Regions from separate parts of the Homo sapiens genome. Here all the other regions are linked to region 5. Evidence: promoter capture Hi-C in 16 types of primary human blood cells and fetal thymus (Javierre and others, 2016). All regions are on one chromosome and are shown on one strand. The core of a region is centred on a gene start or on the middle of the fragment in contact, and the rest is flanking DNA. Distances in the headings are between cores, read along the strand shown.

Region 1 (4,136 bases), core at 879-3,378, 730 kb before region 5:
AACTTAGCCCACCCCTCCAGGGGTGAGTCAGCCTCAGTGTTACCCCAGAATGTTAAAATTGTCCTGTCTCCCATTGTTAAATGTGCATCTCTGTGTCCTGCAATAAACAAGAGGGCATGAAACACATGTACAAGTGTGTGTGGCTGTTTTCGCTCATATCTTTTCTAGAGAGACTTTGAAGAAGGTGTGTGGATGCAGCTCATTTGTTTGTTTTTTGGACCATCAGGTAGAATGTCACCACCCTCCATTTCCTTACTTAGGACCTGCCCCAGTTAGGGTTACAATGACCAAAATAGCCAGCCAGGCACTGTGCCAGTCCCACTGACACAATGGGAAACAGAGACCCTCAATAGTGTACCATCTATTGAGAAATTGAATCAGTAAACAGGAAGTATACCGTCTCATGACTAATGCTGATTTGGGGGAAGAATGTGGCTGAGGGAGCCTGCAGGAGAGGCACTCAGCTGGTCCAGAAATCTTTCTAAGAGGAAACCTGATGAAAGGGACTGGGGTGCAGGGAACAGCAAGGGTGTTTCAAGCATCAGAAATGGCTGGTCGGAAGGACCTAGCCAAAGTTCAAGTGGCTGCTGTGGAAGGCTGAAGAAGAAGCTGAAGTCACATCACTGAGGCCTTTTCTGCCATGCCAAGGAGCCTGGACTTAAGAATCTGTACTTTAGGAGGATCACTCTGGCTACAGTGTGGAAAATGGTTTGGAGTGGATGTGAGACAGGAGGCAGTGTGTGATTAGAAGGCTGTTACAGGTATGACCTGGGTTCAGGGAGCAAAAGACGTCAAGGAGAGGCACAGGCTTTAGTAATCGCAACCGAGTGAGGTCCTGCTGTCTAACTTGAGTAACTGGATGGATGGGGAGGCTGTGCTTTAAGATGAGGAACTTATGAGGAGGAGCATGTTGGGGTGGGAGGAAGATGAAAATTTCAGACATGTTGAGTGTGAAGTGCCTGCAGTCCAGGCCAGCTTCATGGGTGTGTGACCCGGGTGGTCGCCCTGTGCTCAGGAGGGCTCTGAGTGTGTTTGTATGCTCTTCTATCACCATCTTGAAATTCTTAATACATTTTTTTTTATCAGGGGCCTTGTGTTCTCATTTTCTTCTGGGTTTGTGTGCAGTTCAGCCAAGTGGAAAAGTCAGGCAAGCAGCTTGGGATCTGGTTCTGGCAGTCAAGGCTGGAGAAAGAAGCCCGGGATGCTTCAGCATAAGGAGAGGTACTTAAAACCCTGGGAGAGGATGGGCTCACTGCGGGACAGCATGAGGAATGAGAAGAGAAAAGAGTCACGGGTAAGATCCTGAGATCCCCAGCACTTTAGGATCAGCCTCTAAGAGGGTGGGACCTCCAAATGCAAAGACCCAGTTACCTGTTGCCATGTTTTGCCTTTTGAGATGAGGCAGTGAAGGTTAGCCACTGTCTTAGGTCTGAGGAGCGTCTGGATTGGTCTCAGGTTATCAGCTAAATGGCAAATCCAAACAGCACATGAAAAAAAATTATGAGAAAGTATCTATAGCTATTATTAAAGACATTTGCAGCACTCTCCAGATTTCAAAGTATCTTCATCCATTCATTCAACAGATATTTATTGAGGCTGGGCATGGTGGCTCACACCTGTAATCCCAGCACTTTGGGAGGCTGCGGCAGGAGGATTGCTTGAGCCCAGGAGTTCAAGACCAGCTTGGGCAACATAGCGAGACCCAGTCTCTAAAAAAATAACAAAAACAAAAACAAATAAAAACAGATATTTATTGAGTATCTACTATGTGTCAGGCACTGTGTTGGCTGCTAGGGATGTATCAGTGAACAAAAGGGACAAAAACCTCTACTCTCATGAAGCTTCCATTGTAGTGAAGAGAGATAGACAGTGAGCAATAAACATAATACATTCATAAATTTATTATGAATTTATATTAGAAGGTGATAACTGCGTTGGAAAAAATAAAATCTCACTTAACTTTTCTTTGTGAAGAAAAAAAAGCGTTTTGTCTCAGGTGATATGAGACGTCATGTATGAGCCCTGGGGCTCCATCATTGTCCTCAGGTTTGGTTTCATTCTCTGCTTCCTCTGTGCTGATTCTATTATCAGGCAGATCCTACCCTCGTGGGTGGTCAGAGATGCTGAGCAAACACCCAGGTGCATATCTAGTAGAGCAGAGTGAGTGTCTGCTCCCACCTTGCTGGCAAAAGCCCTGAGAGACACTCCAAGTGGACTGGCTTAGGTCCTTTGCCCTCCTCTGAGCTAGTCTTCTCCCCTGTAATCTTTGCAATCACTCAGTGGGGAAGCTGCCATTTCCATTTCCCAGGAGGGGAAGACTGAGGCCAGGAGAGGAAGACTGAGCTTCCCAGGGCTGTACACTTAGAAAGTGGCAGACCTGGGACCTAGGCCCAGGCTGTCTGTCCCTAAGCTTGTGTTGTGTCCACAAGAAGTTCCAAGGCAGAGTATAAATAAATTTAAATACATCATTTCTCCCCAAACCTACTTTAAGGTTTAAAGGTGGCTAATTAAAATAACCATGAAAGACTTAATTAGGGACATGGTTAGGCAACAATTGCTTACAAATTCATGGGAATCCTAAAAGTATAGGGATTTAGACATTTAAAGACTCTCCAGTCTAATCCTTGCCTCTGATAGGCGAGGAAATTGACGTCTAGAGAAGGGAAGGAACTTGAATGGTCACTCAGCAAGTGGAGAAAGGGCAGGGCTGGGAGGGAGGCTAGGATTCTGTTAATCTGGACCAGCGTGAGTGGATCAAACCTCTCCGTGGTGTGTCTGAGCCATTCAGCAGCCACTTAGATTGTCTATGCTGGGCTAACATCTACCAACTGGATAAACACTAGATTGTCTAATGAATATTCACGGCCTCTTAACAGCTTGTTTGCCAATTTAACTCCCCACTAGTTTTCCTTGGTGATAATAATAATAAAATAATAATCATACCACACCCTTATCGAGCAGTTACTGGATGCTAGATACTGTACCAAGAGCTTTACCTGTATCAACATACTTAATTGCAGCAGCAGCCCCAAGAGATAGGAGGTATTTCTAATCCCCATTTTACAAAGGAGACAACTGAGCTTTAGAGGATGAAAAACTCACCCTTGGTCTTGGATAGTGAGCGCTGGAGAGCCCAGATGTAAATCCAAGTCTGTTTGATTCTCTAGCCCAGGATTTTAATCACTGGAAGAGCAATAGTTCTTTTTTCTTTTAAAAAAGAAACTTCAGCCGGTTGCGGTGGCTCACACCTGTAATCCCAGCACTTTGGGAGGCTGAGGTGGGTGGATCATGAGGTCAGGAGATCGAGACCATCTGGCTAACATGGTGAAACCCCGTCTTTACCAAAAATACAAAAAATTAGCCAGGCGTGGTGGTGGGTGCCTGTAGTCCCAGCTACTCGGGAGGCTGAGCCAGGAGAATGGTGTGAACCCGGGAGGCAGAGCTTGCAGTGAGCCGAGATTGTGCCATACGCTCCAGCCTGGGCGACAGAGTGAGACTCCGTCTCAAAAAAAAAAAAAAAAGAAACTTAAAAATTAGGATTGGATACAAAGTACAGCTTGTCACTTTCCCAAACACTACCTACCAGCACATTTCTTTCTTTCTGAGGTTAAGTCAGCCCCTGCTGGGGATAGAAATCATCAGTTAAGTAACAAAGTGCACTTAACACCACTGAGGTTTAGAGCTAAAGGCCTTGATAAGGTGCTTGACTGGTTCAAAGAGATTTTGAAGCAGAATGAAGCAGAACACCATCAAGCCCTGGGACAGAAGCCTTCACCATCCTCTGCATGGTGACATGCCTGTTTGGAAGGATTTATGCATCTCTGTCAAATGTATGGTCTGCGTGGGCTTTCCCCAGGTGTCACTGCCATCAACAATGTCAAGAGAATTATCAAATCAAAATAAGCACAACAGCTACCACTTCTTGAGTGCTCCTGTGCTGAACCCATTAAGAGCTTTGTGTAATTACCTCGTTTAATCCTCAGAAGAGCTGGTGGGAGAACAGAGGTAGGTAGGTCCTGTGAAGTAAGTACAATTAGAATCTCCAATTCACATAAAATAAACTCTAGTCTTGCTTAGAGGGGGTTAAAGGACTTGCAGAGGGTAATAGTTTCTAAGTAGCAGAGCTGGAACTTGAA
Region 2 (3,748 bases), core at 577-3,076, 810 kb before region 5:
CAAATGGAGGGCTGTACACGTTTGTTTGTTTATGTTTTTGAGACGGAGTCTCTCGCTCTGTCGCCCAGGCTGGAGAATGCAGTGGTGCAATCTCGGCTCACTGCAACCTCCACCTCCCTGGTTCAAGTAATTCTCCCGCCTCAGCCTCCCGAATAGCTGGGATTACAGGCGCGCGCCACCACGCCCGGCTAATTATTGTATTTTTAGTAGAGACGGGGTTTCACCATGTTGGCCAGGGTCATCTCGAACTGCTGACCTCAAGTGATCATCCGCCTTGGCCTCCCAAAGTGCTGGGATTACAGGTGTGAGTCACCACGCTGGCCTACACTGTTTAGTGAGGGTTAAATAGAGGCAAGGTTGACTTCCTCCATCAGCCAAACCCATTATACGCGGAGTGAGCTGGTAATAAAACTAGTATCAGCAGGCACCTGGTCTTTTCACCTCTCCACTCTGTTGCAAAGGCCTATCCAAAATAAATCTGTGATTTTTTTTTCTTTCTGAATCTGTGATATTTTGTAGATGGGATCTTTTTAAAAAGCAGCGTTCTTCCAGGTTTGCTGGAGTACTGTGTTTTATTTACCTTGATTTTCACCTCTACAGCAAAACTTGGGTACGTTGACTGTAGGTTTTTAGTAAACTAATTTCAGTTATTCACATTTGTTACTGAGAAAACCTTGAGAGTAATTGTTCACTTTTCTCTTCTAGACAGTAAGAGGCAAAGTAGTTTTATGTTAGAACTGTGTAGGTTGTGATTATTGTGATCCTTTTTTTTTTGTTTGTTTGTTATGGAGTCTTGCTCATCGCCCAGGCTGGAGGGCAGTGGTGTGATCTTCACTCACTGCAGCCTCCACCTCCTGGGTTCAAGTGATTCTCCTGCCTCAGCTTCCCAAGTAGCTGGGACTACAGGCGTGCACCACCACGCCCGACTAATTTTGGTATTTTTAGTGGGGATGGGGTTTCACCATATTGGTCAGGCTGGTCTCGAACTCCTGACCTCAAGTGATCCGCCCGCCTCGGCCGCCTAAAGTGCTGGGATTGAAGGCGTGAGCCACCGCACCCGGGCCGATTATTGTGACTCTTAACAATTGCCTTTACGTTTCTTTTCTCATGAGAGCTATCTTTTCCCTGTCAGTCCCCGTGGCCTCCCCCTGGACGTTTTCACTTTCTACTTGGTATAGTTACTGCCCTTCTTAGACTGCAAAGTCAGTGAGGGCAGAGTCCAGTCTGTTTCACTTTTTAAATTACTCCTCAGAGCCTGAGGTAGGCATTCAAGTAATTTTTGAATAAACCAGACTTCTTAAGCTTTAGCTGTAAGACTTTTATAATCTTAAAGCAGATTTTGGTAGAATTAATGTTAGCTTTCCCCCAGAAAAACTAATGGAGGTGATAGAGATTGCTACTATTAGTACTGAGTATGGTGCATAGAACATAGGAGAAAAGATTTAGCTCCAAAATAGATTTAATGGAAATTAATTTGGTGTCTTCTTTTGTCAAAAATAAAGGGATAGTGAATACCAATGGATTCACCATTCAGTTTCTACTTTTCAAAAAAAATTTTTTTTTGTGGGATCAAATGTTTAAATGTTAAACCAGGGTGGAATTTTAAATTTAAATTCTGAAGTTTAATAGTCATAAAATTGCCTGTTTTCTTTTAACAGGTGGTGTTTCATAAGATGTCACCCAACGAGACCCTCTTTTTGGAAAGTACCAACAAGATTTATAAGGATGACATTTCCAATAGCTCCTTTGTGAATTTCCAGATATGGGATTTTCCTGGGCAAATGGACTTTTTTGACCCAACCTTTGACTATGAGATGATCTTCAGGGGAACAGGAGCATTGATATACGTCATTGACGCACAGGTAGTCAGTAATGTGTTTACTCCTCTTTCCTGGTGGGAAAAAGATGTAGAAACAAAGGAAAGTTGTTTATCTTCTTTGTCATGTGGTTGCAGCTTATCTCTTTGGCAGTAGATTCCCTAACAGTGTAAGAGATGCAGTTGCAGAGTGCTTTGGGAGCAGACATGCATTGTGCAGGTACAGAATATCAGATGATTAGGAGATATGGTTTACATCCTTGAGTCCTAGTTGATGAGCAGCTAACATTGGCTTTCCACTTTTATTGGTTGCCATATTTTATAATAATTTTATAATAATAGTGATGTTATTCCCTGAAAATATCCCATCCCATAACATAAAGAGGAATATGAGAACTGAGTCAGTAGATATTAGAGTGAATAGTTTACTTAATTGTCAAAATTGAGTTTAGCTCAACAAACATTTATGGAGGGCCTAGCATGTGGCAGTCAGTGAGATGAATGGGGCAAGTCCCTATCCTTTAAGAAGCTTACTTTTTATAAGCTTAAGCATTAGTTAAGAATGCTTTCTGAGTGATAGGCTCTACAGAGGGTGCCTTCACGTACAGGACCTAATTAATTTAAGCTTCACAATATTGTTAGGTAGGTATTGTAATTCTGATCTTACAGATGAGAAAACTGAGATCAGAGTTTAAGCAGCTTGCTTAAAGTGACACACTGAATAAATGGCAGAGCTGGGATTACTTAAAAAAATTATGTTGGGAAAAAATGTTCATATCATTTTTTTCTTTCTTAAATTAATATTAAAAATTACAAGCATTAACTTGGTAATTGAATTTTTTTATCTTGAGACAATTGAAGAGTTATTTAGTAGTATAGTATATTTGAATGTTTGAATATTGATGATAATTAGGATAGTATTTTTCTGTGGTTGGGGAAAGAGGTGGTTTGAGGCTTTAACTCATTACTTGGCTTTTGTAAGATTTATTTTAAAAAATATTTTGTTCTGACTTACAGGATGACTACATGGAGGCTTTAACAAGACTTCACATTACTGTTTCTAAAGCCTACAAAGTTAACCCAGACATGAATTTTGAGGTTTTTATTCACAAAGTTGATGGTCTGTCTGATGATCACAAAATAGAAACACAGAGGGACATTCATCAAAGGGCCAATGATGACCTTGCAGATGCTGGGCTAGAAAAACTCCATCTTAGGTAACAACATGTGTGTTTGATATGAAAGCCCTGAACAAGGTGTAAATGTATTCCCATCTCTGTCATTACAAACACCATAGCTTTCTGCTACCTGTGTGCCCTTTGCCACATCTTTTATGTTTTTGATCTTGTTGTTGAATTCCAGGCTGTCTGGGGAGCCTGATATTGAGAAATTACCCACTTTTTGCGTTTTCCTGGAGATTGAAGTCATGTGAAGTGTTTCCACTGGTGCTTTTCCAAATTCATCTCAAGAGACTGGAGTCAGGCTGTTTCTTCATGGCATAAATCTGCTTTGGGACTCCTTCCTCTTGGTTTCATTACTTTTCCCCGCCTTGCATCAGTGAAGTGAATCTGTCACATTTGTTGTGGAAGTCTTTAGCTTGAGTCTTAGACAGTATCTTTCTCAGTAGGAACAGCCTTATACAGAGAGTGCACTTTCAAATCTGGACTGACTCTTTTTATTTTTCATTTTTATTTTTCCTGCTGGCTCCCTTCCACCTCCCCCCTGGACTGACTGTAATATATCTTAGCTTTTAAAACACTTTATACTTTTATGAAACTCTATAAAGTTTGGCTTAGGTGGGTTTATCTTATAAATGTGCATAAGGCTGCTATTAAATTTAGAGGACTATTGGTTTGTAACTACTGTTAAGAAATTATTATTAAATAATACCTACTTGATAGGATTGATTTGTGTATTTGCATTCTAAAAGTG
Region 3 (4,248 bases), core at 1,466-3,965, 750 kb before region 5:
TTTCCATATAAGTGGTAGCATTCACACCTTGCTTTTTCCAATTAACAATGTATCTAAAGATCATTCTCTCAGCACATATAGCTCAATCCCATTCTTTTTCTTCTTATTTTTAAGTTCAGTTTTGGTTTTGGGATAGGTCATACGGGCATACTGTTACAGGATCCTTGGGGTGTCACTTTTCTGGCTGGAAACCTCTGTGGCTGGTGGCACCTTTGCCTGAGTTTTGCTCAGGCCCACTGGGCTCTTTCTGCCCACTTGGCCTGGCAGGCTGCACTGACCTCAGGTGATCTGCCTGCCACCTCATGCTACTGGCCTGGATCCCACACTTGCCAAGGGTGGGTCAGTGTGGAGTGGTGAGGGGTTTGTGAGTGAGCATGGGGTCTGGCCACTGTGCAGTCAGGCATGCCAGCTGCTGCAGTGGGGTGGGCAGCTCCAGGTGCCAGCATGGGCACCAGCTCTCTGTGAGGCTATGGCTGGACGAGGCACACTGCAAGCAGCTTCCATGGCTGGCACCAGGGAAGGCGGTGGTACCTGGAAGCTTGGAGATGCCAGGAACCACCGGTCTCCAAAGAGGGAGTCACAGCCCTGGCTTAGGGAGCTCCCAGGTCTGGGCTCCCCAAAGGGCCACAGCTCCTCTGTACTTCTCTTTGTCCGCAATGTGGTGAGCAAGGGGCGTGTTTCAGCCCTGTTGGTGTTACAGCTCTTTTAGCCTTGCCATTCGATGGGTCCCGAGTTCTTGTCCTGTGACCAGGAAGAATGAGGTATGCAGGCAAGTAGAGAGTGAGTAAGATGAAGAGGAGCTTTATTGAGTGATAGAACAGCTCAGAGGAGACCCTCAGTGGGTAGCTCTTTTCCACAGCCAGGGTGTCCCAACGAGTATTCAGCTCCTATCAGAGAGGAGACCCTAGAGTGGGAAGCTCCTCTCTGCAGGCAGGTCGTCCTGTCATCTCTGCAGCTCTCAGCAGAAAGGGGGCCCTAGAGTGGGTTGCTCCTCTCTGTAGGCAGATACTCCCATTGTCTCCCCAGCTCCCAGCAGAGAGGAGGCCCTGGTGTGGGTTGCTCCTCTCTGCAACTGGTAGTCCCGATGTCTGCCCAGCTGTCAGCAGAGAGGAGGCTGTGGAATGGGTAGCTCCTCTCTGCAGCTGGTGGTCAGGAAGTCTGCTCAGCTCTGGCTGAGCCTAGGGCTTCGATGGGCCTCAGAGGGAAGGAAATGCATGCCGATTGGTCCATGGGTCACCATGGGCAGGCCCAGAAAAGGCACCGCAAGTTTCCAGTCTGTTTCCCTGGTCCCCGGGACTGGTAGCCCAGCTCCCAGCCTTCAGGCCTTCCCTGGCCTGAAGGTGGGGCCTCACTGGGGATCCACCCCTTCCACCCAGGAACCTATCTGCCTCTCTGCCATTCATGGCATCCAGACTATAGGTGCCAAGGGTCACCTACAGGCCAGCATCAAGCTGCCCTCAGGACCCCCTTGGCTTCCTTCCTGTGCTCATCAATACCCAGACTGGAGCGGGCTGAGGCGGCAGGGGGGCTGGCATGTCAGCATTGCCCTGAATGTGTGCACACCTGGCCAGGCTGCGACAGCGCCCTAGCTCGACCCCGACTTTGCTCAGAGATTGGGGCGGGCACTGACAGCAGGGAGAAGCCAAGCAGTGGGAACAGGCACTTCCAAGCCTGTGAGAGCAGAGGGGTCCTTCCTGGGCTCCTAAGAGTGCAGAGACGCCGGGGTCTGCAGTCTCCATTTGGGCAGCTACAGCTGCGCTTGGGAAGGTGGGGCTCCTGCTTGCTCCCAGCCCCAACAAGAGCACAGGGAGGCCTGGGTCCATAGCCACTACTTGGGCAGCTGCAGCTGTGCCCAGGAGGGCAGGGATCCCGCCTGTTCCCAAGCCCTGAGAACACAGGGATGCCTGGGTTCTGCAGCTGTGGCTTGCATGGCTGTAGCTGCACCTGGGGAGCTCCTGCCCCAGCTTTTATTGCACTTTGCTTTATTGCACTTTCACAGAAAATGCATTTTTTTTTTTTTTAACAAATTGAAGGTTTGTGGCAACCCTGTGTTGAGCAAGTCTATCAGCACCATTTTTCCAACATGTGCTCACTTTGTGTCTCTGTGTCACATTTTGGTAATTCTTACAACGTTTCAAAATTTTCATGATTATTATATCTGTTATGGCAATCTGTAACCAGTGATCTTTGATGTTACTATTATAATTGTTTTGGGGTACTATGAACTGTGAACCTAATCCAATAATGTGTGTGTTCTGATTCCTCCACCAACCAGCTATCCCCTGGTCTCTCTCTCTCTCTCTCCTTGGGCCTTCTTACCCCCTGAGATATGAAAATATAGAAATTAGGCCAATTAATAACCCTACAATGGCCTGTAAATGTTCAAGTGAAAGGAAGAGTCTCACATTTCTCACTTTAAATTAAAAGCTAGAAATGATTAAGCTTAGTGAGGAAGGCAGGTCAAAGGGCAAAACAGGTCAAAAGCTAGGCCTCTTGTCTAAACAGTTGACAAAGTTGCAAGTGCAAAGGAAAAGTTCTTGGAGGAAATTAAAAGTGCTACTCCATGAATGATAAATCAGCCTTATTGCTGACACACAGAAAGTTGGCGTGGTTTGGGTAGAAGATCAAACCAGCCACAACATTTTCTTAAGCCAAAGCCTAATCCAGAGCAAGGCCCTAATCCTCTTCAATTCAGTGAAGGCTGAGAGAGGTGAGGAAGCTGCAGAAAAAAAGTTAGAAGCTAGCAGAAGTTGGTTCATGAGGTTTAAGGGAAGGAGTTCTCTCCATAACGTTAAAGTGCAAGGTGAAGCAAGTGCTGATGTTAGAAGCTGCAGTAAGTTATCCAGAAGATGCAGCTAAGATAATTGATGAAGATAGCTATGCTAAGCAACAGATTTTCAATGTAGACAAAACAGCATTCTATTGGAAGAGGCTGTCATATAGGACTTTCAAAACTAGAGAGAAGTCAATGCGTGGGATCAAAGCTTCCGAGTACAGACTGTCTTGTTACAAGGGGCTAATGCAGTTGGCGACTTTAAGTGGAAGCCAATGCTCATTTACCTTTCCAAAGATCCAAAGACCCTTAAAAGTTACTAAATGTACTCTGCCTGTGCTCTAGAAATAGCAAAACAAATGTTTTCTATTTATGACAGCACATCTGTTTATAGCATGTGGTTTACTGACTATTTTAAGCCCATCATTGAGACCTACTGCTCAGAAAAAGATTCCTTTCAAATTATTATGCCAACCAGCAATGCACCTAGATACTCAAGAGCTCTGATGGAAATATACAAGGAGATGAATGCTGCCATAGATAGTGATTTCCCCAGTATATTTGGGCAAAGTAAATTGAAAACCTTCTGGAAAGGATTCACCATTCTAGATGCTGTTAAGAACATTTGTGTGTGACTCATGGGAGGAGATCAAAATATTAACATCAATGTGAGTTTGGAAGAAGTTGATTCCAACACTCATGGATGACTTTGAGGATTTCAAGACTTCAGTGGAGGAAGTAACTGCAGGTGTGGTGGAAACAGCAGGAGAACTAGAATTAGAAACAGAGCCTGAAGATGTAGCTGCATTGTTGCAATTTCACGATAAAATTTTAATGAATGGTGAGTTGCTTCTTATGGATGAACAAATAAAGTGGTTTCTTTTCTAAAAATTTTATTTTTAACTGCTGTGGATACATAGTAGGTATATATATTTATGAGGTATATGAGATATTTTGATACAGGTATACAATGTGTAATAATCACATAAGGGTAAATGTATCTATCACCTCAAGCATTTATAATTTCTTGGTTTCTTGAGATGGAATTTACTGCTGGTGAAGTTGCTGTGAACATTGTTGAAATGATGACAAAAGATTTAGAATATCAGATAAACTTAGTTGATAAAGCAGCAGCAGGGTTTGAGAGGACTAAGTCCAATTTTGAAAGAAGTTCGTCTGTAGGCAAAATGCTATCAAATGGCATCACATGCTACAGTGAAGTCTTTCATGAAAGGAAGAGTCAATAGATGCAGCAAACTTCATTGTTGTCTTATTTTAAGAAACTACCAAAGCTACCCAACCTTCAGCAACCACCACCCTAATCAGTCAGCAGCCATCAGCATGGAGGCAAGACCCTCCACCAGCAAAAAGATGACGACTCGCTGAAGGCTCAGGTGATCACGAGCATTTTTTAGCAACAAACCATTTTAAAATTAAGGTTTAGACATTGGTTTTATAGACATAATCCTATTGCA
Region 4 (4,055 bases), core at 1,237-3,736, 770 kb before region 5:
TATACACTAATTTAAGGGACATATAATTGTGTGTGTGGAGGTGGTGGGAGGTCCAAGGGGCAAGGGGTGGCAATCCCAGAATTCCTTACTTTGCAAAGGAGGCACCTGACTCAGGTTGTGAGCCCACTGGGAGCAGGAGTTGTTTTATCTGTCTTAAATCCCCAAGGCCCAGGATGGAGTCAGTCTATAGGCGGAGATCAATAAACATTTGTCCAGTGAACACAAGAATAAAGGTCACTCAGCTTAGGCCTCCGCGGGACGCCTGAATTTCCTCCACAGTACAATCTATGACTGTTTCCTTGGTGGTCTGATGGAGGCCCACCAAATGCAAAAAATCAGCTTGCTGGTAGAGGTAGGAACCTTGATCATCCTTGATACATTTGTGTCTTACATTCAAAAAGACCTTAGGAAGGTCAGTATTAACCAGACGTGCTATTTCTCTAGAAACTATATAAAGGGAGTGTGGGAAAGAGAAGCTTTTATTGAAAACAAACAAAGCCTGCAATGTGCTTTTGCAGGGAGTTGTGGGAGAGCTGGGTAGGGCCACTCCAGGTCTCCTGGCCCTGAGGTGGAGGCCCTGTGACCACGGAAGCTTCTCTAGGTAGCTCTGAGCCCACTTCTGGGGTCTCTTGCATGCCTCCTGTCAACTCAGGAGAGGCAGCTGAAAACTGAGCCATCTCTGCTGCTCTGGTCAGCTGGACAGGCTGCATAGTTTGAAGGAAAGTCCTTGTTTTCTACCTCCTCCTGCCTAAGATCAGTGACCCGCCCCCCCCGGGCTCCCACCTTCCCCAGCCAGGTCAGGCATCAGAGAGCTACCATGGCAGCCACAGATGCAAATGCATATTGCTTGAATTATTTATTTTATTATTTTTTTAAAGCTCACCCTTTAATGAAATACCTTAAATATGTAGGGTAGTCAAGACTCACAAGAGAAGGCTAGACTCGATCCCTTCAGCGCCCCTTCAGCGCCCCTTCAGGCTCTCAGAACTTTGATGGAAAACATCCCGGAAGCTAAAAAACTGTATTTACCTTCCCCAGCCCCACCCCTACCCCTATCCCGGACACTGTAATTTAGAAGCACGCGTTTATTTGTAGGATTATTCATCGAGTCAATCTTCCCCACCAGATGTGATTCTCACGATTGTTTTTTGACTGCCAATGGTCAGCTAAGGGTTTAGTAGGTATTTGGCGATGGGGAAGCATTGGTTGCATGCATGATGGGTGAATGCTGAGGGGTCTGACTCGGCTGTGGATGGAAGGAAAAAGACCTCCTCCACCACCACCCGGGTCTCAGTGAAGGACGGGTTGGGAGCGCTCCAACAAGAACCACTGCCTGTCCCCCAGCCCGGACCCGCGGCCAGGGAGGAGGCCCCGGGGAGCCCTGGAAGGCGCCGCGGGGAGGCCTGCCTTCCTGGAAAGCCACGCTTGGAGCTGTCTTCAAAAGCGGCGACGCAGCCCCCGGCGTTTGAGCACGAATAAATCATTAGCATTTTATTTACAATTCTGGGTTTACAATTCCTGGAAAAGGATCCTGCTGTTCAGTGCGGATTCCTGCTTTGCAGGATTTCCCCAGCGCCTCCTTCCACCTCTCGTCTAGGGGGACTGGGTTCCTTAAGACTTCCCTGGACGGGAGTGCGGTGCGGAGTGGATGGGGCGGGTGGTCTCGGGAAGGAGGGGGCGCCGTCCCTCGGTCCTGCGTTTCCCGACGACCCCGAGCAGAGGAGTTGTATCCTCTCGGTTTTACCGAGAAAGGACGGTTGATCAAAGAGGGCTGGGCGTGCCCAGGGTCACACAGCTCGCTCTGAAGCTTGCGCCTAAGTCCCGGGTCTGGGAACCCCGCCGCGCAGCCGCGGACCCGGGAGCCCCCAGCGCTCGGCCCGGCTCCGGTCCCCGACGGCGCCCCGCGTGGCCGCTAGATGGCAGCCTTGGTCTCCGAGGCGGGCGGGCGGCCGCCCACCCAGGGTCCGGAGGGGCCAGCGCGCCGCTCCGCGGAAGGCGCTGTCGCTGGCACCCTAGCCCACGCTTCCGGGGCCCCAGTGACCAAAGCAAGGAAAGAGTTCCAGAAAGCAGCCCAGGCTCCCCTGTCCGGAACGGAGCGGGGGCTTGCTCCGGGCTTACCCGGAGCGGGGTCCGAGGCGTGGCGCTCTGGGCTCCGTGTTGGGGTAGGCTCCGCCGGGCGGGGGCGCCTTCAGCCCCTCTTGGGCAATGCCGGCCGCGCGCACAGGGCCCGGGGACGGTCGGGGCGAGACCGCGTGGGGTGAAATCCGCGGCAGGAGGCCGCCTGACTGTGTCCTGATCCGGTCCCTTTAGACGTGACCCATGGTCAAGCCTTCTACCTATCTCCCCTCTCCTGCTCCAGACCTAGGCATGTGGAGTCTCTCCCTAGCTGGGAGAGGCCGCGGGCCGGTCCCTGCCTGCCTCAGCCCCAGCGACCTCCACCCAGAACCCACAATGGCAGGTGGAGGCACCCGCCCATCCCCGCGGCGGCACCTGTGGGCGAGCAGAGATTGGCATGTCTCGGAGGTTGGCACACGGATGATTTGGGCCTCATCGGAGAGAGACATCTGTGTGGGCAGAGGAGGTGGTGGTGCTGGGCAAACCGTGCCTTCCCTACATCAGAGGGGAGGTGGGACTCAGGGGACTGGGATCAGTCCTGTTGTCTCTGGAGTGTGCACCGATATGAATTCATAGGTTCGTTTCATTGGCCCCTTTCTTTGGGCCTCAGAGTGGTAGGTTCTCTGCCTTTAAGGTCTGACATTACAGTGCTGGGATCTGCCTGACGTGCAGGGGAGGTCTACAAAGGACCCTCTCACCTCCCTTCTCTATTCATGCTTCTTCTCTGGATGTGGCTTCTTTCTTTTCTAGGAGGAAGGGGCTCAATTTTGTGAATTTGACCTGGCCTACAGGTCATCTTTGTGCACTGGGCAGCAACAGACCTGAACTGTGCTTCAGATTCTGAGAAATTGGACTTTGTCTTGGCCCTTGGAGGTGGGGACACTGAGGCCTAGAGGGGGAAGGCCTTTGCCAAGGTCACTTGGGGCATCCAGCTTTCCCAGTCCAGGACTCTTGTTGCTGCCAGGCCTTCTCAAAAGACATCCTCTAGATCCCAAAGTCCTTGCAAAGTTCTATACTTTGCATTGCTTTTGAAAATCATCTGAAGCTTTGTCCGAGTGCATGGGCCATTAGGTCCTAGGAGTAGAGTTGGGCACTGAAGGGTGTTGTTCCTCAGGATGGCTCTCCAGGCCTTGTCTTCCCCGGTCTGGGCCGTACAGGTCAGGTCAGATGAAGGCAGTTGGGGACTGGTGGTGTGAACATCCCTTGATCCCATCAGTAGCCCCCTGGGAAAGCCACGTAGTACAAGGATGTGAGTGGAATTGGTATCTGCCACATGTCCCTCTGTTAAGATCACAATTTCCATGACAGAGTCGCTCTCTAATGGAGCCTGTCAACTCGGCTTAGGCCCCAGTGGCTCAGAGCACACTTCCACGAGAGAGGCGGTGTGGGATCTGAGGCATTAACTGTGCCTTGTACTGGGAGGAGGCATAGGGCGGCAGAATACCTTTTCGAAGTCCCCTTGGAAACCAGTACCCGGCACCTATCATGCCTGCCATCTAATTACCCGGTAATTATTCCACACAGCCATGCAATTGGCCAGGGTCGCAGGGAGCCCACCAACAGCCCAAGGGGGAAGGTGGCTCTCTCTAGGGGCCTGCAGCTCCAGCTCTGGGCGAACAAGCCGCCTCTGAAGCCGCTGGAGAAGTACCCCTTTGACAGCACGCAAGGGCCTAGAGCAGCCGTCTTTATTGGCAGCCGGAGAGGCTGTTTGGGGAAATGGAAAAACTTGTGTCGGCGGCGTCAGTCTTGTAAAGGGGTAGCCAAGCAGTTTGCAGCGTGTTCTGTTCCTCGCGCTGCTGCCACCGCCTCGGCTCCTCAGAGCCTGCCGGGGAGGAGCGAGGGGGAGGAGGTGACCGAGTTCACGTCCCCACCGCTGCCTCTCCTGGAGTGATGGATGGCTGTCTGCTCAGGCGGGGGAGCGCCTGCACAGCTCTGCAGGG
Region 5 (4,073 bases), core at 67-2,566:
CAGGGAGTCCTCAAGGGCTGGGGCGTGAGGAGGTAGCTAAATTCCACTGCCCACCTTTCCAACAAGGCCTCCTCAATCTCAATTCCCTTTTCAGCAGCTCCAGGCAAGTCCGGGCAAACTCTAGCCCAGGGCTCTTAGCGAGGCTGGACAGCTCCCGGCCTGCACGCCGGATTTCTGGAGAGCCCGAGCCCCTTCCCTGAGCCCATCCTTCTCCTCTCCCGGGGCGTGATCCCACCACGACCACAGCCGATGAGCCGTTCAAGCTGGGAGAAGGAGCGAGAAGGCTGCAGCGGCGCAGGTCAGATACCCCTGGGCCCAACGTCCACCCCCAACTAGCGCCCTTGCCAGCAGCGTTTTCCCCGGAGCCACAGTCTCCACCTCGAGATCTTCTCCTTCTGGAACCCCGGAGCGCGGCCGGGTACCAGGGGCTCGCGTAGGACTGTAGAACCGCTGCCGCCCGCCGTCCCAGCCCCAGCTGCCCGCGCGGTACTCACCTGGGCCTCAGTGCCCGGGAGAAGGTGTGCCCGCGCGAGGCGTGAAGCCAGAGTCCGTCCGACTCCGCCCGCACCGGACGCGCTCTCAGGGCAGAGGAGGTCGGCGGAGTTGTGACGCTGGGACTAGAGGAAGGAGAAGGAAAGCCGAGACGGGCCGGGCAGACGCGCCGAGGAGCGCCCAGTGCACGCTGGCAGCCGCGGGAGGCGAGGCGGGCGCGGTGAGCAGTCGCGCCGGAACCGAGCCGCGAATCCGCGCCGCCTCGCGCTCGCAGCCGCCAGGACCCGCGGGAATCCTGGTCCGCCGGCAGCGGTACTGAGGAGGGAGGGGCGCGGGGCTGAGCCGCTTCTCGGAGCCCGAGCGCCTCCCGGAGCCGGCAATCCCTGCTGCCCGGGCGGGATGCGGGCGGGAATTCAGCTCGCGTGGAATGTGGGACCGGCCGGGCTCGGAGTCTCCAGCGCTGGGGGAAAGCGGGGCCCACACAGCCAGGACGAGAGGGGGTGCGGTCCCAGGGCCACCCCCGCGCCACTCCCCACGTGGCGGCCGCGCCCCCGGGGCGTGAGTGTGTACGCGGACGGTAGGGGGGCCGTGAATGAAGCCCCAGCGGCCAATCAGCACGGCCGGCGCGCGGGACCCCGGGAGCGACGCCCAATGGAGAGCTCTGGGCGGCCGGGCAGGGTGGCGGGCGGGCGCGCGGGGCGGGGGCCGGGCAGGGGAGGCGGGAGGCAGCTCCGCGGGCAGCCAATGGGCGGCGGGCGGGGTGGGGCTCCGGAGCGCCGAGCGGGTCGGGGCTTTAAGCCGGCGGAGCGAGGCGGCGGGGCCCGCAGACGGAGCGGAGCGGCGGCGGCGGCGCGGCGCAGGGCGCGGGGCGGCATGGCCACCACCGCGCAGTACCTGCCGCGGGGCCCCGGTGGCGGAGCCGGGGGCACCGGGCCGCTTATGCACCCGGACGCCGCGGCGGCGGCGGCGGCGGCGGCGGCCGCGGAGCGATTGCATGCAGGGGCCGCGTACCGCGAAGTGCAGAAGCTGATGCACCACGAGTGGCTGGGCGCGGGCGCGGGCCACCCCGTGGGCCTAGCGCACCCCCAGTGGCTACCCACGGGAGGAGGCGGCGGCGGCGATTGGGCCGGCGGCCCGCACCTAGAACACGGCAAGGCAGGCGGCGGCGGCACCGGCCGAGCCGACGACGGCGGCGGCGGCGGAGGTTTCCACGCGCGCCTGGTGCACCAGGGGGCGGCCCACGCGGGCGCGGCATGGGCGCAGGGCAGCACAGCGCACCACTTGGGCCCGGCCATGTCGCCCTCGCCCGGGGCCAGCGGGGGCCACCAGCCCCAGCCGCTCGGGCTGTACGCGCAGGCGGCCTACCCGGGGGGCGGCGGCGGCGGCCTGGCCGGGATGCTGGCGGCGGGCGGTGGCGGCGCGGGGCCGGGCCTGCACCACGCGCTGCACGAGGATGGCCACGAGGCGCAGCTGGAGCCGTCGCCGCCGCCGCATCTGGGCGCCCACGGACACGCACACGGACATGCACACGCGGGCGGCCTGCACGCGGCGGCGGCGCACCTGCACCCGGGCGCGGGCGGCGGCGGCTCATCGGTGGGCGAGCACTCGGACGAGGATGCGCCCAGCTCGGACGACCTGGAGCAGTTCGCCAAGCAGTTCAAGCAGCGGCGCATCAAGCTGGGCTTTACGCAGGCCGACGTGGGGCTGGCGCTGGGCACGCTCTACGGTAACGTGTTCTCGCAGACCACCATCTGCCGCTTCGAGGCCCTGCAGCTGAGCTTCAAGAACATGTGCAAGCTCAAGCCGCTGCTCAACAAGTGGCTGGAGGAGACCGACTCGTCCAGCGGCAGCCCCACCAACCTGGACAAGATCGCGGCGCAGGGCCGCAAGCGCAAGAAGCGCACGTCCATCGAGGTGGGGGTCAAAGGCGCGCTCGAGAGCCACTTTCTCAAGTGCCCCAAGCCCTCGGCGCACGAGATCACCGGCTTGGCAGACAGCCTGCAGCTGGAGAAGGAGGTGGTGCGCGTCTGGTTCTGCAACCGGCGGCAGAAGGAGAAGCGCATGACCCCTGCGGCCGGCGCGGGCCACCCGCCCATGGACGATGTATACGCGCCTGGGGAGCTAGGGCCTGGCGGGGGCGGCGCATCGCCACCCTCCGCGCCCCCACCGCCCCCGCCGGCGGCGCTGCACCACCACCACCACCACACACTGCCCGGCTCAGTGCAGTGACCCCGCGGGCCGGGCCCCCGCCGGCGCGCTGCAGGGCGCGGGCGCGCAGCCCGCCCGCGCGGCCTGGACTCTTTTTGTTCGGTTGCTTTGGATTTTACAAAAAAAAAAAAAAGCCCAGAAACTTTCGAACAAAACCAAACACCCGGACGACCCTCTCCGGTGAGCGGCGAAGACAGCCCGGTAGGCTGCGTCGCCCGAGCCCCGGGAGAGAGGAGCGAAGATCCGGAACTCGCCAACTCACCCCGGGCATCCTGCCCGCCGCCTGCTCTCTGCCCCCATCCCCTCGACGACCCCCGCCCCTGCCCCCCCGGGCTGTTCGGGGCCGGATCCCGGCAGCGGCCTCCCCAAAGCGACAGGTAACGCAGTGCGGGGTTAGGGATTCCCCGGGAGAGAGGACGAAGCGAGGAGAGTTCTCCATCCCCTCTCCCCGCGTGGACTCCTGAGCCTGCGGGTCCAGGGTGGGGGGCTGTCACTTTATTCGCTACACGCCTCTTCTCTCCTATAAGGATGCGCCCCACCCCGCTTTCCCCTTTCTCCGGGCTTGGTTTTTTACGGTTTTTATTTATTCGTGGAGCCTCTCGGCTCCTGGGGTCCTTCTAACTCCGCCCGCGCCCTTAATTTAAATCGCAGTATACTGTATTTATCGGGGCCCCGGAGGGGAGGTCGCGAGAGCCGCGTCTGTGTATAAAAGCAGGAAATAGCCAAAGCTTTAATCTAGCCTAATTTATTTTTCCCCTTATATTTCCCTACCCTACCCTCCCCCCAAAAAAAAGCAAAAAAAAAAAAAAAAAACTAACAAAAAAAATTCGAGTGTTCATTTTTCGTTTCGTTTCATCCGAGCCCCGGCTTGGTTCCCGGCCACGCCGGAGGGGTCTGCGCTCCCACACACCCAGACGGGAAGGGGCTTCTGCCCTGCTGCAGACCGACCGCCGCATAGCGCGGCCCCTGCTCCCCGCGGGGCCCTGCCCTCCTGGCCACACCAAACGAAACTTGGAAAAGTTAGAGAGATTGTTTTTTAACCAGCTGTAGAAATAAGCCGTTCCCTGAGAACCCTCCGCCTGATTCCCTGCAGCTTCCCTCTGCTCCCTTTCCAGCCCGCCGGGATGCGGGATGCCAGGGGAGGCCGGGAGAGAAATTCCCCAAGTTTGGGGTGAGGTGGGAACCATGTAAATATGTGAGATATGTACACACTGGCGGGGAGAAGAAACATTTTGTGCTTGGTTTTTATTTTTGGTTTTCCGGGTTACCCTTCCTTCCTACCCTAAAGGATTTTGTACACTGACTAATCCGAAAAAGATATTTTAATATGATTTCCGAATTTCTGACCCATCTCTATTTATTTTCTGGATGTG
Region 6 (3,693 bases), core at 1,060-3,559, 790 kb before region 5:
TATAAAAATATAAGTAGTCTTCTGCAACTTGCTTGATTCTTTTCCTTCAGGTGGTTTTTGAGATTTATTCAGATTGATGACACGTAGTTCTAGTTCATTCCTTTTCGCTGCCATATAGTATTCTACAGGTTGACTATACCACATTTTATTTTCTTGTTGCTGGACATTTGGATTATTTTAAAAATTTCAAATCTGTAACAAATGCTCATGAACAAGTTTAAGTTTGCCTTTGCACGTGTGGAGAATTTCTCTAGGGTATGCCTTTAGGAGTGGAATTTATAGAGTACCTATATCTTTTGACTAATAAAGAGATTGCCAAACAGCTCTCCAAAGTGACTTTACTATTTTCATCCCTGGCTGGCACCGGTCTGTGGAAGTTCTTATCACTTCTTGTCCTTAATAATGCTTGGTATTGTTAGACTGTTTAATTATTGTCAATCTGGTAGGTGTGAAAGGGTATCTTATTTGATTCTCATTTTTACTTTTTAAATTACTGGTTAGAGCAAGTGTCTTTTCATGGCAAGTACCTTTTCATGGCTATTCAGGTTTCTTCTTTCACATTTTACCTGTTCCATATATATTTATCTTTTTTTGCACTGATTCTTAGCAGTTCCTTATTTTTCTCTATGTTAGTTTATTTGTTTATTTATTTTTTTGAGATAGAGTCTCGCTCTGTCACCCAGGCTGGAGTGCAGTGGTGCGATCTCGGCTCACTGCAAGCTCCGCCTCCCGGGTTCATGCCATTCTCCTGCCTCAGCCTCCCAAGTAGCTGGGACTACAGGCGCCCGCCTGCACGCCTGGCTAATTTTTTGTATTTTTAGTACAGAAGGGGTTTCACTGTGTTAGCCAGGATGGTCTCGATCTCCTGACCTCGTGATCCACCTGCCTCAGCCTCCTGAAGTGCTGGAATTACAGGCACCCGCCACCACGCCCCCAGCTAATTTTTTGTATTTTTAGTAGAGATGGGGTTTCACTGTGTTAGCCAGGATGGTCTTGATCTCCTGACCTTGTGATCTGCCTGCCTCGGCCTCCCAAAGCGCTGGGATTATAGGCGTGAGCCACCGCGCCCAGCCTATGTTAGTTTATTTTTTTATTTGTGTTTTTATTTTGAGATGGGAATCTTGCTGTGTTGCTCAGGGTGGTCTTGAACTCCTGAGCTCAAGCAGTCTTCACACCTCAGCCTCTCACATAGCTGGGATTACAGGTGTGCATCACTTGTGCCTGGCTCCTAACCATTTTAATCTTAAAAAAATTTTTTTTTTTAGAGTGGGTGTGGTGGCTCACACCTGTAATCTCAGTGCTTTGGAAGGCTGAGGTGGGAGGACGCTTGAGCTCAGGAGTTCAAGACCAGCTTGGGCAAGATAGCAAGACACTGTCTCTACCAAAAAATTAAAAAGTTAGTTGGGTGTGGTGGCTTGCACCTATAGTCCTCTCTACTCAGGAGGCTGAGGCGGGATTGCTTGAGCACAGGAGTTTGAGGTTACAGTGAGCTATGATTGTACCACTGCACTCTAGCCTGGGTGTCAGAGTGAGACCCTGTCTATAAAAAAAAAAAAAAATTTTTGTTTATGGAAATTTTCAGGTGTATACAAAGGTGGAGCAGCACGAGGAGTCCCTATGCATTCAGCTCCTGGGTTCAGCCCTCATTCCCACACACTTCAATCATGTTTCCTGGAGAGCTTCTCAGTTATTATAGATTATTAAGCTTTTTTATTTTATTGTGGAAACTGTCAAATATATAAAAAAGTAGAGAAAACAGTATAATAAAAGCTTTTTAATCCATTGCCCAGATTCAGTAGTTATCAAAATTATAGCCAATTATGTTTCATATTTATACCACTTTCCCTACTGGATTATTTTGAAGCAAAGGCCTGACATGAAATCATTTTGTCTCTGCAGATTTCAGTAGGTATCTCTAAAAGGTAGTGGTTTTTAAAACAATAAACAACAAAATTAACAGTGACTTAATGATATCAAATATCTGGCCAGTGTTCAAATTTCCTTGATTGTCTTTTATTTTACATTTGGCACAGAAATAAATTTTAATGTAGTTGAATTGATCAAAACTTGTCTTTTATAGTTTGTTTCTTTTCTGAGTCTGAAGGTCCACCTTAATTTGGCTGTAACCTACTTATTCAGACCTGATTCTTAGTATTTCCTACCAAGAGTTCTCTGATGTCCCACTCTCCAGTCAGACCATTTTTTTTTCCTGTCTTCCACCTGTGCTGTATTCTCATGGCCAGGTCCCTGCAGTTTTCTTGTGATTTTGTTCCCCTTTTCTGCCTAATTAAATCGTGTCTGTATTCCCCAAGTTCTTTCTTGTCCCTGAAGTTTTCAGTTGATTACTTTGCCCTGCACTTGGCTTTTTCTTTGGATTTCCTTCACAGTTGTAGTCAATTTGACACCAGATTGTTTTGGTTTGTTTCTTGTATTTTGGCTTTATGCCTCAGCTAGCATATCCTGTCTGGAAGTCATGGACCATATCTGCTGTTTCCTTTGACATATTGTACCCTCTATCGTGCTGTGTAATAAGTATTTACTGACTTTCATCAAATCAAATATAAACTATTGAAAGATCACACTATGTTCAAGCAGGCCACACAGTGTATTTGAATATTTTACTTTTCTTGAATGTGAATTGAGTGATTTGAAACTTGGATGCCAGAGGTATTAATTTGGCCAAGGTGATGGTCTAATTGCAATCGCATTTGTTTTCTAGCAGAACGTTATGATGGTGGATATATATGATGACCAGCTGTTCTTTTTTTTTTTTTTTTTTTGAGTTGGAGTCTCGCTCTGTCACCCAGGCTGGAATGCAATGGTGCAATCTTGGCTCACTGCAAGCTTTGCCTCCCAGGTTCACGCCATTCTCTTGCCTCAGCCTCCTGAGTAGCTGGTACTACAGGTGCCCGCCACCATGCCCGGCTAATTTTTTTTGTATTTTTAGTAGAGACGGGGTTTCACCGTGTTAGCCAGGATGGTCTTGATCTCCTGACCTTGTGATCTGCCCGCCTCGGCCTCCCAAAGTGCTGGGGTTACAGGCGTGAGCCACTGCACCTGACCGATGACCAGCTGTTCTTACGATTGAAGAAGTTGCTATCTAGTTTGGAGGCTTAAGAATTTCCAACCAGTGTTTATCCGAGTTATTTTTGGCTGCAAACCCAAATATAAAATTTCACAATTGACAATTCAGGAGGCATTCTTTTCTTTTTCCTTCCTGCAGGTTTAATAGACTACAACTTCCACTGTTTCCGAAAAGCTATTCATGAGGTTTTTGAGGTGGGTGTGACTTCTCACAGGAGCTGTGGTCACCAGACTAGTGCCTCCAGTCTGAAAGCGCTGACACACAATGGCACGCCACGAAACGCCATCTAGTCTGAATCCCAGCGTCGGGGCTCTGTGCCAGCTTACTCTTCACTCCAGGGTCGGATGCCACGTGCTACAGGACATGGGAGCTGCTGCTTGTGGGAATCTGGTGCCTGTTCCACTAGAGACAAGGGGTAGAGTTTCTCATTTGGATGAAAACCCCTTCAACTGGTGGTGTACAACTGAAGCTACTATATCTTTTTTGAAAATGGCAAAAAAAAAAAAAAAAAATTCTGGAGACCACAGAACTCAAGTGTGTGTTTCTCCTCTTTTGGGTCCCCTTTAAGTAGTTGGGATATTTTGGACCTGGAGATAACACCAGTTACC
Region 7 (4,236 bases), core at 1,410-3,909, 830 kb before region 5:
CCACAATGATTGGGTTTGAATGCCAGCTCCAGCTGTGTGACCTCAGGTAAATTAAGGTGTGCTTCCGTTTCCTCATCTGTAAGATGGGGGAAACAACATACTTACCGCATAGGATTTTAGTGATGAACACATCTTGTATCTTAGTAGTTTGTTTGATTGTGTAACAGTTCCCTTTATATAAAGGGGACAGGACATACATTTATATTTTAAATGAAAAATAATGAAAATATTCACTTTTAAAATCTTTCCTTTGGGGTATATTTCCTCTGAGATAACCTGGGATACCAACCTTAATATGCAATCTGCCGGCAAATAATCCAAGCAGCTAAATTATAACTTGCCCCACTGCTTCCTTCAAGAGAGCAGCTATATGTCTTAAATAGGTCAAATACTGCTACAGTGAAAGTTTCCATAATACTGCCACCATACCAGTGAACAATCTATTGCAAGTAATATCTATAATGAGATTCTGGTACCATAAGGCCGGGCGCAGTGGCTCACGCCTGTAATCCCAGCACTTTGGGAGGCCGAGGCAGGTGGATCACCTGAGGTTGGGAGTTCGAAACTAGCCTGACCAATATGGAGGAACCCCATCTCTACTAAAAATACAAAATTAGCTGGGCATGGTGGCGCATGTCTGTAATACCAGCTACTCTGGAGCCTGGGGCAGGAGAATCACTTGAACCTGGGAGGTGGAGGTTGCGGTGAGCCGAGATTGTGCCATTGCACTCCAGCCTGGGCAACAAGAGGGAAACTTCGTCTCAAAAAAAAAAAAAAAAAAAAGATTCTGGTACCATAAAATAGTTGAGAATTTTTGGAGTTCTTTTTGTTTTCTGAGACAGAGTTTCTGCTCTTGTCGCCAAGGCTGGAGTGCAATGGCGCGATCTTGGCTCACCGCAACCTCTGCCTCCCAGGTTCAAGTGATTCTCCTGCCTCAGCCTCCTGAGTAGCTGGGGTTACAGATGCCTGCCACCACACCCAGCTAATTTTTTGTATTTTTGTAGAGACAGTGTTTCACCATGTTGGCCAGGCTGGTCTCGAACTCCTGACCTCAGGTGATCCGCATCGGCCTCCCAAAGTGCTGGGATTACAGGTGTGAGCCACTGTGCTGGGCTTGAAGTTCATTTTAACGTAAGAATTTACAAAATTTGGGCTGGGCGCGGTGGCTTACTATGGGAGGCCGAGGCGGGTGGATCACTCAAGGTTCAGGAGTTCAAGACCAGCCTGGCCAACATGGTGAAACCCCGTCTCTACTAACAATACAAAAATTAGCCAAGCGTGGTGGCACTTGCCTGTAGTCTCAGCTACTTGGCAGGCTCAGGCACGAGAATCACTTGAACCTGGGAAGTGGAGGTTGCAGTGGGCTGAGATCCTGCCACTGCACTCTAGTCTGGGCAACAGAGTGAGACTCTGTCTCCCCCCACCAAAAAAAAAGAAAAAAAGTATACTTTTTCATAGTAAAGTATAATAAGTACTTTATACATATTCATAAATATTACTGAGATGAATTTCTGAAAATGTTCACCAATTGCCAGGAAGAAACCAGAATTTATTTCAAATTTATTTCAATTTGGATTAAAAAAACTAATCTAAATTCCTATGACAGCCAGATCTGTTTCCTCTGGTTTCACTGAATGCCATATCTTACTGAATTATCAAATGAAGCATATTCGTTTTCCTATGTGTATAAATGAGATTTAAAAATCACTGACTTTTTGACCGGGCACGGTGGCTCATGCCTGTAATCCTGGCACTTTGGGAGGCTGAGGCGGGTGGATCACGAGGTCAGGAGATCGAGATCATCCTGGCCAACATGGTGAAACCCCGTGTCTACTAAAATACAAAAAATTATCCCGGGGGGTGTTGGCAGGCGCCTGTAATCCCAGCTACTCAGGAGGATGAGGCAGGGGAATCGCTTGAACCCAGGAGGCGGAGGTTGCAATGCGCCGAGATTGCGCCACTGCACTCCAGCCTGGCGACAGAGCAAGACTCTGTCCCAAAAGAAAGAAAGAAAGAAAAAAAAATCACTGACTTTTCAAGCCAGTAATGGCATGTTGGGGAAAAAGAAATTGACTTTGTTATAACTTTTATATCAAATAATCTTAATAAATAAGGTTAAGATCAGGTTACTAGTTTTAGAAACCTTTCCAAAAGTTCTGTTGAAAAACAACAATAGGCTGGGCATGGTGGCTCACGCCTGTAATCCCAGCACTTTGGGAGGCCGAGGTGGGCAGATCACCTGAGGTCAGGAGTTCGAGACCAGCCTGGCCAACATGGAGAAACATCATCTCTACTAAAAATACAAAATTATCCGGGCATGGTGGTGCATGCCTGTAATCACAGCTACTCAGGAGGCTGAGGCAGGAGAATCGCTTGAACCCAGGAGGTGGAGGTTGCGGTGAGCTGAGATCATGCCATTGCACTCCAGCCTGGGCTACAGAGTGAGACTCCGTCTCAAAAAAAAAAAAAAAAAGAATATAATTTTAGGCCATGCGCATTGGCTCATGCCTGTAATCCCAGCACTTTGGGAGGCCGAGGTGGCCAGATCATCTGAGGTCAAGGGTTTGATCTCAGCTCACTGCAACCTCTGCCTTCCAGGTTCAAGCGATTCTCTTGCCTCAGCCTCCCGAGTAGCTGGGACTACAAGCGCCTGCCACCACGCCTGGCTAATTTTTGTATTTTTAGTAGAGGCGGGGTTTTACCATGTTGGCCAGGCTGGTCTGGAACTCCTGACCTCAAATGATCCACCCACCTTGGCCTCCCAAAGTGTTGGGATTACAGGTGTGAGCCACCCCGCCCAGCCTATATTCTTAATAGAGAATATATACACTCCTCCTCCAGGTATCATGTTTTTTTCATTGTATTGTGATGTCTAAATATAAGTGATTTTAAATTCCTGACATTTAAGTATATTATTGGTAACAGATTCACACTTTGGCCAGGTGTGGTGACCCACACCTGTAATTCCCACACTTTGGGAGGTGAAGGCAAGAGGATCACTTGAGTCTAGGAGTTTAAGACTAGCTGCAGCAATAGAGTGAGACCCTGTCTCTACAAAAAAATAAAAAAAATTATCTGGGTGTAGTTGCACACACCTGCAGTCCCAGCTACTCAGGAGGCTGAGAGGGGAGATGATCGCTTGAGTCTGGGAGGTTGAGGCTGCAGGGAGTTGTGGTTGCAACACTGTACTCCAGCCTGGGCAACAGAGGGAGACTCTGTCTCAACAAACAAACAAACAAAGAAAAAACCCCACAGCTATCTAGGGAAAAAGTAAAGCAACCAGCATATAGAAGTGACATATTGTTATATTTTCACCATAGGTTTGCTTTAAGAAATAGTGCTCCCTTCAGAATGGAAGAATTTATCTGCCTCTTATTTGATGTGGATCAGAGCTAAGATGGCTGACTAAATAAACATGGGGGACTGGAATCTCCTTGGAGATACTCTGGAGGAAGTTCACATCCACTCCACCATGATTGGAAAGATCTGGCTCACCATCCTGTTCATATTTCGAATGCTTGTTCTGGGTGTAGCAGCTGAAGATGTCTGGAATGATGAGCAGTCTGGCTTCATCTGCAATACAGAACAACCAGGCTGCAGAAATGTATGCTACGACCAGGCCTTTCCTATCTCCCTCATTAGATACTGGGTTCTGCAGGTGATATTTGTGTCTTCACCATCCCTGGTCTACATGGGCCATGCATTGTACCGACTGAGAGTTCTTGAGGAAGAGAGGCAAAGGATGAAAGCTCAGTTAAGAGTAGAACTGGAGGAGGTAGAGTTTGAAATGCCTAGGGATCGGAGGAGATTGGAGCAAGAGCTTTGTCAGCTGGAGAAAAGGAAACTAAATAAAGCTCCACTCAGAGGAACCTTGCTTTGCACTTATGTGATACACATTTTCACTCGCTCTGTGGTTGAAGTTGGATTCATGATTGGACAGTACCTTTTATATGGATTTCACTTAGAGCCGCTATTTAAGTGCCATGGCCACCCGTGTCCAAATATAATCGACTGTTTTGTCTCAAGACCAACAGAAAAGACAATATTCCTATTATTTATGCAATCTATAGCCACTATTTCACTTTTCTTAAACATTCTTGAAATTTTCCACCTAGGTTTTAAAAAGATTAAAAGAGGGCTTTGGGGAAAATACAAGTTGAAGAAGGAACATAATGAATTCCATGCAAACAAGGCAAAACAAAATGTAGCCAAATACCAGAGCACATCTGCAAATTC

Evidence for each region. Contacts are between HindIII fragments. The CHiCAGO score rates a contact against its expected background, and 5 or more counts as called.
Region 1: a fragment that was not itself captured here is called in contact with the fragment with the promoter of POU3F1 in region 5 in 1 of 17 cell types (endothelial precursors); the score reaches 5.4 in endothelial precursors.
Region 2: a contact is called between a fragment that was not itself captured here and the fragment with the promoter of POU3F1 in region 5, in 9 of 17 cell types (M2 macrophages, megakaryocytes, M0 macrophages and 6 more). The highest score is 11.4, in M2 macrophages.
Region 3: a fragment that was not itself captured here is called in contact with the fragment with the promoter of POU3F1 in region 5 in 4 of 17 cell types (M1 macrophages, endothelial precursors, megakaryocytes and 1 more); the score reaches 7.7 in M1 macrophages.
Region 4: a contact is called between a fragment that was not itself captured here and the fragment with the promoter of POU3F1 in region 5, in 9 of 17 cell types (megakaryocytes, endothelial precursors, erythroblasts and 6 more). The highest score is 19.1, in megakaryocytes.
Region 6: a contact is called between a fragment that was not itself captured here and the fragment with the promoter of POU3F1 in region 5, in 8 of 17 cell types (megakaryocytes, M2 macrophages, M0 macrophages and 5 more). The highest score is 14.4, in megakaryocytes.
Region 7: a contact is called between a fragment that was not itself captured here and the fragment with the promoter of POU3F1 in region 5, in 1 of 17 cell types (M2 macrophages). The highest score is 5.0, in M2 macrophages.

What each region holds. Positions count from the first base shown.
Region 1 is chr1:38,778,289-38,782,424 of GRCh38, reverse strand. No RefSeq gene overlaps it. Among named protein-coding and RNA genes, the nearest start is that of RRAGC, 79 kb to the left of the region's middle. The HindIII fragment of the contact is 569 bases long and covers 1,844-2,412 here.
Region 2 is chr1:38,854,993-38,858,740 of GRCh38, reverse strand. RRAGC (Ras related GTP binding C) reads left to right here. Exons shown (of 7, transcript NM_022157.4): 2 at 1,659-1,862; 3 at 2,834-3,033. Among named protein-coding and RNA genes, the nearest start is that of RRAGC, 2.9 kb to the left of the region's middle. The HindIII fragment of the contact is 1,043 bases long and covers 1,305-2,347 here.
Region 3 is chr1:38,798,496-38,802,743 of GRCh38, reverse strand. No RefSeq gene overlaps it. Among named protein-coding and RNA genes, the nearest start is that of RRAGC, 59 kb to the left of the region's middle. The HindIII fragment of the contact is 542 bases long and covers 2,445-2,986 here.
Region 4 is chr1:38,816,196-38,820,250 of GRCh38, reverse strand. No RefSeq gene overlaps it. Among named protein-coding and RNA genes, the nearest start is that of RRAGC, 42 kb to the left of the region's middle. RefSeq lists silencers at 720-887, 1,778-2,007 and enhancers at 3,385-3,884, 3,885-4,055. The HindIII fragment of the contact is 1,353 bases long and covers 1,810-3,162 here.
Region 5 is chr1:38,044,036-38,048,108 of GRCh38, reverse strand. It overlaps POU3F1 (POU class 3 homeobox 1), which reads left to right and starts at 1,316. Exons shown (of 1, transcript NM_002699.4): 1 at 1,316-4,073. The coding sequence starts at 1,366. The coding sequence ends at 2,721. It overlaps MIR3659HG (MIR3659 host gene), which reads right to left and starts at 975. Exons shown (of 5, transcript NR_168386.1): 1 at 495-975. RefSeq lists enhancers at 12-512, 513-1,013 and a silencer at 926-1,255. The HindIII fragment of the contact is 4,132 bases long and covers 1-3,430 here.
Region 6 is chr1:38,839,235-38,842,927 of GRCh38, reverse strand. It overlaps RRAGC (Ras related GTP binding C), which reads left to right. Exons shown (of 7, transcript NM_022157.4): 7 at 3,224-3,693. The coding sequence ends at 3,375. Among named protein-coding and RNA genes, the nearest start is that of RRAGC, 19 kb to the left of the region's middle. The HindIII fragment of the contact is 1,074 bases long and covers 1,773-2,846 here.
Region 7 is chr1:38,875,278-38,879,513 of GRCh38, reverse strand. GJA9 (gap junction protein alpha 9) reads left to right here. Exons shown (of 2, transcript NM_030772.5): 2 at 3,321-4,236. The coding sequence starts at 3,416. RRAGC-DT (RRAGC divergent transcript) reads right to left here. Exons shown (of 2, transcript NR_186075.1): 2 at 3,288-3,573. The region is part of intron 1 of GJA9-MYCBP (GJA9-MYCBP readthrough); the gene reads left to right. Among named protein-coding and RNA genes, the nearest start is that of MYCBP, 4.0 kb to the right of the region's middle. The HindIII fragment of the contact is 8,897 bases long and covers 1-4,236 here.